3 separate regions of the Homo sapiens genome follow, and all the other regions are linked to region 3. The links are contacts of gene promoters, found by promoter capture Hi-C in blood cells and fetal thymus (Javierre and others, 2016). All regions are on one chromosome and are shown on one strand. Each heading gives the region's core, a stretch centred on a gene start or on the middle of the fragment in contact. The rest is flanking DNA. Distances are from core to core; before and after follow the strand shown. Region 1 overlaps MED12L (mediator complex subunit 12L). Region 2 overlaps TSC22D2 (TSC22 domain family member 2). Region 3 holds the start of ERICH6-AS1 (ERICH6 antisense RNA 1).

Region 1 (2,700 bases), core at 67-2,566, 440 kb before region 3:
CAGGATTTCGAGACCAGCCTGGCCAACACAGTGAAACCCCGTCTCTACTAACAAAAAAAAAAAAACAAAAAAAACAAAAAAAAAAACGCCAGGCACGGTGGCTCACGCCTGTAATCCCAGCACTGTGGGAGGCCAAGGCAGGTGGATCACAAGGTCAGGAGATCGAGACCATCATGGCTAACATGGTGAAACCCCATCTCTACTAAAAATACAAAAACTTAGCTGGGCGTCGTGGCGGGTGCCTGTAGTCCCAGCTACTCGGGAGGCTGAGGCAGGAGAATGGCGTGAACCTGGGATGCGGAGTTTGCAGTGAGCCGAGATCGTGCCACTGCACTCCAGCCTGGGCAACAGAGCGAGACTCCCTCTCAAAAAACAAACAAACAAACAAACAAACAAACAAACAAAATTATCTGCGTGTGGAGGCACGTGCCTGTAATCGCAGCTACTCGGGAGGCTGAGGCAGGAGAATGACTTGAACCCGGGAGGCAGAGGTTGCAATGAGCCAAGACCAGGCCATTGCACTCCAGCCTGGGCGACAGAACAAGACTCTGTCTCAAAAAATAAATAATAAATAAATAAATTCAAAAACTATCATGGGCATACATTTTCTTTGATTTCACCAAAAAATTAATTAAACATAAATATACAACCACCACAACCACACACCAGCATTCTAACTTGGAAGAGGGTATAATATTTTTACTTTGGAAAAGCTGAAATATGTTTCCACAGGGCAACAATCGGGCACATAGAGTTACAGTGCAGCATATTAAACTTGATTAGAACTTTTTAAAGTTTCTGTAAATCAGCAAAGTATGATGGCAGTAGCCAGAGGCTGGTGGAGGGGGAGAAAGGGGAGTTGTTCAATGGGCAGTTTCAGTTTTGCAAGAGAAAAAAGTTCTACAAATCAGTTGTACAACAATGTGCATTGAGTTAATACTGCTGTACCATACACTTATTGTTGGTTACAATGGTAAATTTTATGTTATTTTACGTTAATAAAGGGTCTGTAAATAGGGAAAATTTGCATATTCAATTAACTAAAAAGCTACATACCTGGAAAAATATTAGAGGTCTTCCAATTTTTACAAAGAACATCTACTTCATTTAAGTTAAGGTCCCAAAAAGCAAGTAGTTAGCTTAGAGAAAAGTAAGCTCTTGCAATTTATCTAAGAATAACTAAATTGTAATGCTACTGGGTAAGATGGCATTCCTTAAACTTCCTCCAAATCTTTTTCATAAAACATTCTTACAGCAAGATATCTTCCAGGAAAAGTACCAATGACAACAAAAAATAGGCAGTAATAATTTGGGACTGCGATTAGGCTTAGCTAACTTTTGTTTATATGAAAGCTCCTCTTGTGCATGTCTTAAAGAGTCCAATAGTTCTATATGATTTATTGTGAACACAACAGCCTATTGTCCATAAACTCCTCAATTATTCTCCAAAAGCAAATTATTTTCAACTCTTTCATCTGTTGTATTTACCTCTACCTCTAAATAACATGCTTACAGTCCTACTTCCTGATTGTAAGCATTACCCACTGGCTTCCTACATGGAAGATGATGAACATTCAGCTCTCTTTCACCTCCCATCAAGACCTTGCTTACATATTTCTCCTATGCCTGTCCCGCCAATATTCTCCTCTCACAACTTGAGTAGGTCTAGTCCATGTTAATACTATGAAGGAAAACTTGGCAGAATCTAACAAAATGGAAAAATGCACTTACCAGGCATCAATAAGAATTCATGTTTAGCTCAAGAGATAACACAATCACATATAAAAATATTTATAAATATATGTACATACATGAGTTAGTCCACACACATGCATCTCCTTAATCTGTCAACTGAGAGGGCCTAGAAGCAGTGACACCCCAAGTAGCAATAAGCACTCTTTGTGCTCAACTCTTGGTTTCTAATACCACTCTCCTTTAAAGACAACCAGGGCTCCTTGGAGAAATGGCTCATTATAGGATTGGAACAGAAAATATACACAATGAACATGGAATGCACCTTCTAGTGCCAGAAAAGAAGAAAGTACTTAGAAAGACAAAAACAAAAGCAAACTAAGATGGGTATGTCAAATGGACACAGGACACAGCTGAAAGAGCTCTCAATGGACAAAGGTGGAACAAAATAGAGTATTATAAACCAAAAGATGAAGTAAACATCTATGAATCAATACTGATAGAAATGCTTGAATACATACATACATTAATGAATGAAAGAATAGTAGGTAGGTAGGCAGGTAGGTAGGTAGGTAGGTAGATAAGAGACAAATCACCCATGCAGAAGAATTTTAAATAAGTAGATACTCTGCCCTCAAGGAGGGGGATGGTTAACTCCCCACTTCTTAAGTGTGGACTGTCCATATTACTTCCTTCCAAAGAGTAAAGTGTGGAAAGGGATGGGAGGGAAATAACTTTACACTGTAAAACCTGGTAAGTGCTACCTCAGCCAGGTGATCAAGGTTAACATCAATAGTCATAAGTCATGGTGATAGCATGTACCCTTGATGTAACATGATGAGAATGACATTTGACTTCTGTAACCCTGGTCTAACCATAAGAAAAATATCAGACAAATTCCAACAGAAGATAACCCTACAATATACCTGACTAGTACTCCTCAAAACTGTCAAACATCACTGAAACTGAGAAAATGTCACAGCCAAGAGAAGCCTAGGGAGATATGAG
Region 2 (2,700 bases), core at 69-2,568, 290 kb after region 3:
GTTCACTATAAAAGTAGCTACATATTTAAGGACTGTATTTTCAACCATCACATCCACGAGTTTACACAAAATCAATCTGAAGAGTCTCAACAACTGACCATAAACCTTTCTAATGAAAATGGCCAGAAAGATAAACTTTATGGTAATTAATAATGTAGAGTCAATAGGCAATGCTAATTGAGAACTTTTTGCATATACAACCATCAGCCTTTTAAAGGTGTGATAATATTAAGATGTATTACTATAAGGCCCGGTTCTTTAATTATAAATGATCTCAAAATTAAGCCAATATAGAACTTTGCATTAGGTAATGGAACCAAAATCTCAAGATAAGAGTTTTCAATGTATCAACCTAAACCACCTCAATCTTTTTGTTAATTTCCCATTTTCCTTTCTTTTCTCAAAGAAATAGACTGTTTACTAAAGTCCTAATTTTTTTTTAAAAAAAGCATATATCTTATTTACAAATATTTCCTTAGGATCTGAAATTTGTCAAACTACTTGCAAAGTTTAAATCACAATTAGTCAAGACCTCTCACTCCAGTTGGTTTTATTTCAAATTTGAAAACATGCAGATTTTAAGGCGGCAACCCAAAATCACATTAAAATTAAAATTTTCAGTTAAGATAGTAGTCTCCTCAAAAGTACTCATCTCAGTAATTTAAACATATGCCTGGAAAACTGTTATTTAATTTCAAACACAAAATTTTAAAATACCCTGTTCTTTTTTTTTTTTTTAACCAAAGCTTTCTATTAAAAAAAAAAAACACAAAACAAAAAACCCAACTATTTCTACCTAATGGATTTATTCCTTCACCAGGTATGTTGGACCAGTGACAAAACAGTCAAATGTGTAAGATTACATCTTGGAAACTAGCATGTCAAGTTAAAAACCAATGAAAGACTGTAACAAAAATCAGAAATGAACATTGGTAAGCAATGTAGATTTTAAATGATTGGGGCAAGGGAGGGAAGTGTCATGTTTAAAATAGGACTGTACATACATCAAAACCCCTGCACTGAATTAACTGTTGCAATTGGTAAGAACACTGATACAGTAGTATCTGTAGTTCAACCATTCACAAATTTGGAAATCAGAGTTTTCAGATTACCAACTCTTAATACAGTAAGAGGAAAAAATAAATGCATTTTTGATGTCATACCCTAAAGAATACATTTCAGTTTCCATCTATCAACAGAAGTCTCTGCTTCATGCCTTATCATCGTACTAAAGTTCTGAGGAATCTAAGTATGGATGCTGTAAACTGAGAGAGGTGTGCACAGAAGGGAAAATGTAATCTGCATTCTCGGGTGGAGGGGTGTGTGTGTGTATAGAAAGCGGGGTAGCTCAGGAAACCAGTCATCATTTCTTGAAGAGATATGGGCAGTATACAGGAACAGAGGAAAGCAAAAGGTTATTTGCCAACTTATCAGGAAAAAATTGGCTTGTGGCAGCTAGAAAAGTGAAGATGCCTGTTGATTATTACCAAAGGTGAAAAAATAAACTCAATCTGTGTTACAGGTGTGTCCCTGTGTGTGACAATGGGAGCAACTATAAAAGTAGAGGGATTTTTCTGAGTGGCTTGTGGAGTCAGTTTACTTAGTAGTCCCACACACACAAAATTTCTCAATGACTAGCTAGCTGAGCTCACTTATGGACACGTGGTATTCTCTAAGCGTTCTCAAGTGAAGAAAGACTCCCCATAAGCAAGTCACCTACAAAAAAAGATGAACTTTAAATTACAAAAAGCAGAGAAGATGAATGAATTTCAGTCAGTGAGTATTTTTCAAACCAACAGAAGTATATAACAAAAATACAAGGCTAATTAGAAATGGGAGGTTAAGAAATGTGAAGGAACTCAGAAGAAACCATAGGAAGAGAAAGCTTTAACATACATGTCATTGTATTCTTCCACATACTAATTATTCTGGAAATCCATAATATTAGTTTGTATCTTTTAAAAACACCTAAAATTAGCCTCTCGCTAAACAAAAACCCCAGCAAAGAAATGTCTAACTGTGAAATTCCTGAAACTTTTTCTATAATTTTTAAATATAATTTTAAAACATTGCAACAAGTCAGCTTTTAAAATTTTGCAATATGTATGTCAAATTTACATGTGACATCTCCTCAAAACCACAAAAATCCTCACTAAACCATAACCAAACATCAGCTGTTGTGGCACTGGTGTAGCAATACACTAATTCTTATTTAGGCCATTAAAAAAAGCATCCCTAAATACAGGGAGCCAATTATTAACATTTACACTTTTATTATAAAATTACTCTTAATTTCAAGAACTATAGCTTTCACTACAGTTAAAGGATCGATCTCAACCTCCCTTTCCTATAATAAATAGACTGATGGAAAGTAAGAATATCTTTCCAGTACATTTTTTGCTTAACAACAAAAAAATAGTATCTTAGAGAAGTCCCTGGGAAGACTCGTGACCTTGTACCTCCTTTAATCAAAAGGCTGAACTAAGTATGATCTTCAAAGCCGGATTTGACATTTCACCATTATGTCTCCAGCCTTTCCAGATACACTGGAGAAGATTCCTTACATAGATTTTTTTTTTCACTAGAGGACCTTCTGGTTTTCCAGAAAGGAAAACTTGTAGTATTATTATGTCTCAGCCTCAAAACTCACACTGACAAATCTCTCTGCCTTACGTGTTCAAGTGTGATTGATATGTAAGA
Region 3 (2,700 bases), core at 158-2,657:
TGAGGCAGGAGAATTGCTTGAACCCAGGAGGCTGAGGTTGCAGGGAGCCGATATGGTGCCACTGCACTCCAGCCTGGGTGACAGAGCGAGACTCCGTCTCAAAATAAATATAATATAATATAATATAATATAATATAATATAATATAATATAATATAATATATAAAATTGGCCAGGCGTGGTGACACACATTTGTTGTCCTTGCCACTTGGGAGACCGAGGTGGGAGGATCACTGGAGCCCAAGAGTTCAGGGCTGAAGTGAACCATGATGCCGCCACTGCACTCCAGCCTGGGTGACAGAGTGACATCCTGTCTCTCAAAAATAAAAAATGTATATATTTTACAAAAATGTAAGTAAATACAAAGTCCCAGAAGGACGCAGGTGGTACCTAGGTGGCCAGATGCTTCAGGACTTTTCTACTCCAGGATGGATAGATGGGCCAAGTAAGAAGCAGGACCCAGATCACAGCAAGGAGCAAAATTTATGGGACGCTAAAAATGTCGCCAATCAAGATTAATTAATATTAATCTAACAATATTTAAGATAACTAACATTTAAGGCAATTTTAATACGCTTATTAATATTTAAAGCTATTTTAAAAATATCCGCAAACGAGGGCCCAAGGGCTGGCGCCTGATTTTGTAAATAAAGTTTCACTGGACGTTCCAGCAAGCATCTGTCTACTCAATAACCAGACTCCAGCATCCGCAATACCAAATGGCACCGTGTGTGTCCGTCGCTAGAAGCCACTTCCTCCACCCAAGTTAAAAAAAAAAAAAAAGGCCCCAAATAAGCTGAGAGACGAAGAAAAGATCGTTTCTCCGCAGGCTGCCAGGGGTTTCAGAGACGCTGAAGAGCAGGGACAGAAAGAAGTCTGCGGTGGCCCCCACCGGCCCTCGGCACCCACATTCTATCCGGCTAACCAGCTCCTGCCGCTTTAAATCCGGGAGGCTCGGTGGCGCAGGGCAAGCAGTTGCCCGGGGAGACCAACGCACAACAGAGGCTCGCGCTCGCGAGAGCCGACCGGGGCCGCGGCCAAAGAGCTGGCTGTAATCCCGCCTCCCGCCAGCCATGGCCCACTTGCGCTCGCCTAGCGGCTTCGGAGACCCGGGGAAGAAGGACCAGAAGGAGTCAGAGGAGGAGTTAGAGGAGGAGGAGGAGGAGGAAGAGGTGGAGGAGGAGGAGGAAGAGGTGGAGGAGGAGGAGGAAGAGGTGGAGGAGGAGGAGGAGGAGGTGGTGGAGGAGGAGTTGGTGGGGGAAGAGCAGGAGTTGGAGGCCCCTGAGACGTTCAGCGAAGAGTACCTCTGGAAGGTCACGGACATCGGTGACTACGACGACGACTTCCCAGACGTGCGCCCCCGCTTAGCCAGCATCGTCAGCCCTAGCCTGACCTCTACGTTCGTGCCCAGCCAGAGCGCGACCAGCACTGAAACGCCGAGCGCAAGCCCACCCTCCAGCACCTCCTCGCATAAAAGTACCGCCCCCGACCCACCCCTTCCTCGAGGGTTTCTCGTCTCCAGGGGGCACCTGGTCCACCCACTCCTGGGTGGTGCCTTCGTCGACCTGCGCGTCGTGCCTGATTTCTAAATGCATGCACCATTCCACACACCTAATCTCTCTCACGCCCTTGTCAGAGACACTGAACCCTTGGCTGAGCTGTTGTGATGAGGCACGATTTAGGATATAGGCGAAACACCATAAAAGTTGAACTTGGGCATGGCTGTATGAAGTGCTTTTTTTTTTTTAGACAAGAGTCTCGCTCTGTCGCCCAGGCTGGAGTGCAGTGGCTGCAGCCTCGACCTCCTGGGCTCAAGCCTCCCACCGCAGCCTCTCGAGTAACTGGAACTACAGGCACACGCCACCACACCCAGCTAATCTGGCGTCTCACTATGTTGCCCAGGCTGCTGGGAGTGCTCATTTTTATAACATTTTTGCGTGCATTCACACCGTGACATCTCTCTCTCTCTCTCTCTCTGTTCCCCCTCCCCTCCCTCTTCCTCCCCTCCCTCTCCCCTCCCCCTCTCTTTCTCTCTCCCTCTCTCTCTCTCTCACAGACACACACACACACACACACACACACTCATATTATTTCCAGAGAAGTGCCTTAAGGGTGCTGTACTACTGAAACAGTCCTGCAAAAAAAAAAAACAACTCTCTTTTGTGTTTAACATCCTGTGCTGAAGCCACTCCAGTCACTTCCTTGAAAAAAGAAGCAGAGAAGTCTTCTAGAGTAGGCTTCTCAAGCTCTAGTGTTGACATTTTGGTCTGGATAATTCTTTGTTGGGGAGGATTGGGGACTGTCCTGTGAATTACAGGATATTTGGCAGCATCCCTGTCCTCTACCCGTGGCTGTGCTAGAAGCACACATCCTTGCGATGATCAAAAATGTCTCCAGGCCGGGCGCGGTGGCTCACGCCTGTGATCCCAGCACTTTGGGAGGCCTAGGCGGGCAGATCACGAGGTCGGGAGATCGAGACCATTCTGGCTAACATGGTGAAACCCCGTCTCTACTAAAAATACAAAAAATTAGCCGGGCGTGGCGGCGTGCGCCTGTAGTCCCAGCTACTTGGGAGGCTGAGGCAGGAGAATAGCGTGAACCCGGGAGGTGGAGCTTGCAGTGAGCCAAGATCGCGCCATTGCACTCCAGCCTAGGCGACAGAGCGAGACTCCGTCTCAAAAAAAAAAAAAAAAAAAAAAAA

Evidence for each region. The method cuts DNA at HindIII sites, captures the fragments that hold promoters and counts their contacts. A CHiCAGO score of 5 or more calls a contact.
Region 1: a contact is called between a fragment that was not itself captured here and the fragment with the promoter of ERICH6-AS1 in region 3, in 5 of 17 cell types (erythroblasts, M0 macrophages, total CD8 T cells and 2 more). The highest score is 7.0, in erythroblasts.
Region 2: a fragment that was not itself captured here is called in contact with the fragment with the promoter of ERICH6-AS1 in region 3 in 1 of 17 cell types (fetal thymus); the score reaches 5.2 in fetal thymus.

What each region holds. Positions count from the first base shown.
Region 1 is chr3:151,138,553-151,141,252 of GRCh38, reverse strand. The region is part of intron 5 of MED12L (mediator complex subunit 12L); the gene reads right to left. Among named protein-coding and RNA genes, the nearest start is that of MED12L, 54 kb to the right of the region's middle. The HindIII fragment of the contact is 4,237 bases long and covers 1-2,700 here.
Region 2 is chr3:150,411,629-150,414,328 of GRCh38, reverse strand. All of the region lies in intron 1 of TSC22D2 (TSC22 domain family member 2), which reads right to left. Among named protein-coding and RNA genes, the nearest start is that of TSC22D2, 4.7 kb to the right of the region's middle. The HindIII fragment of the contact is 1,139 bases long and covers 749-1,887 here.
Region 3 is chr3:150,702,271-150,704,970 of GRCh38, reverse strand. It overlaps ERICH6-AS1 (ERICH6 antisense RNA 1), which reads right to left and starts at 1,407. Exons shown (of 3, transcript NR_121675.1): 1 at 1,304-1,407. It overlaps ERICH6 (glutamate rich 6), which reads left to right and starts at 1,051. Exons shown (of 14, transcript NM_152394.5): 1 at 1,051-1,475. The coding sequence starts at 1,073. RefSeq lists enhancers at 856-945, 1,096-1,175. The HindIII fragment of the contact is 4,487 bases long and covers 1-2,700 here.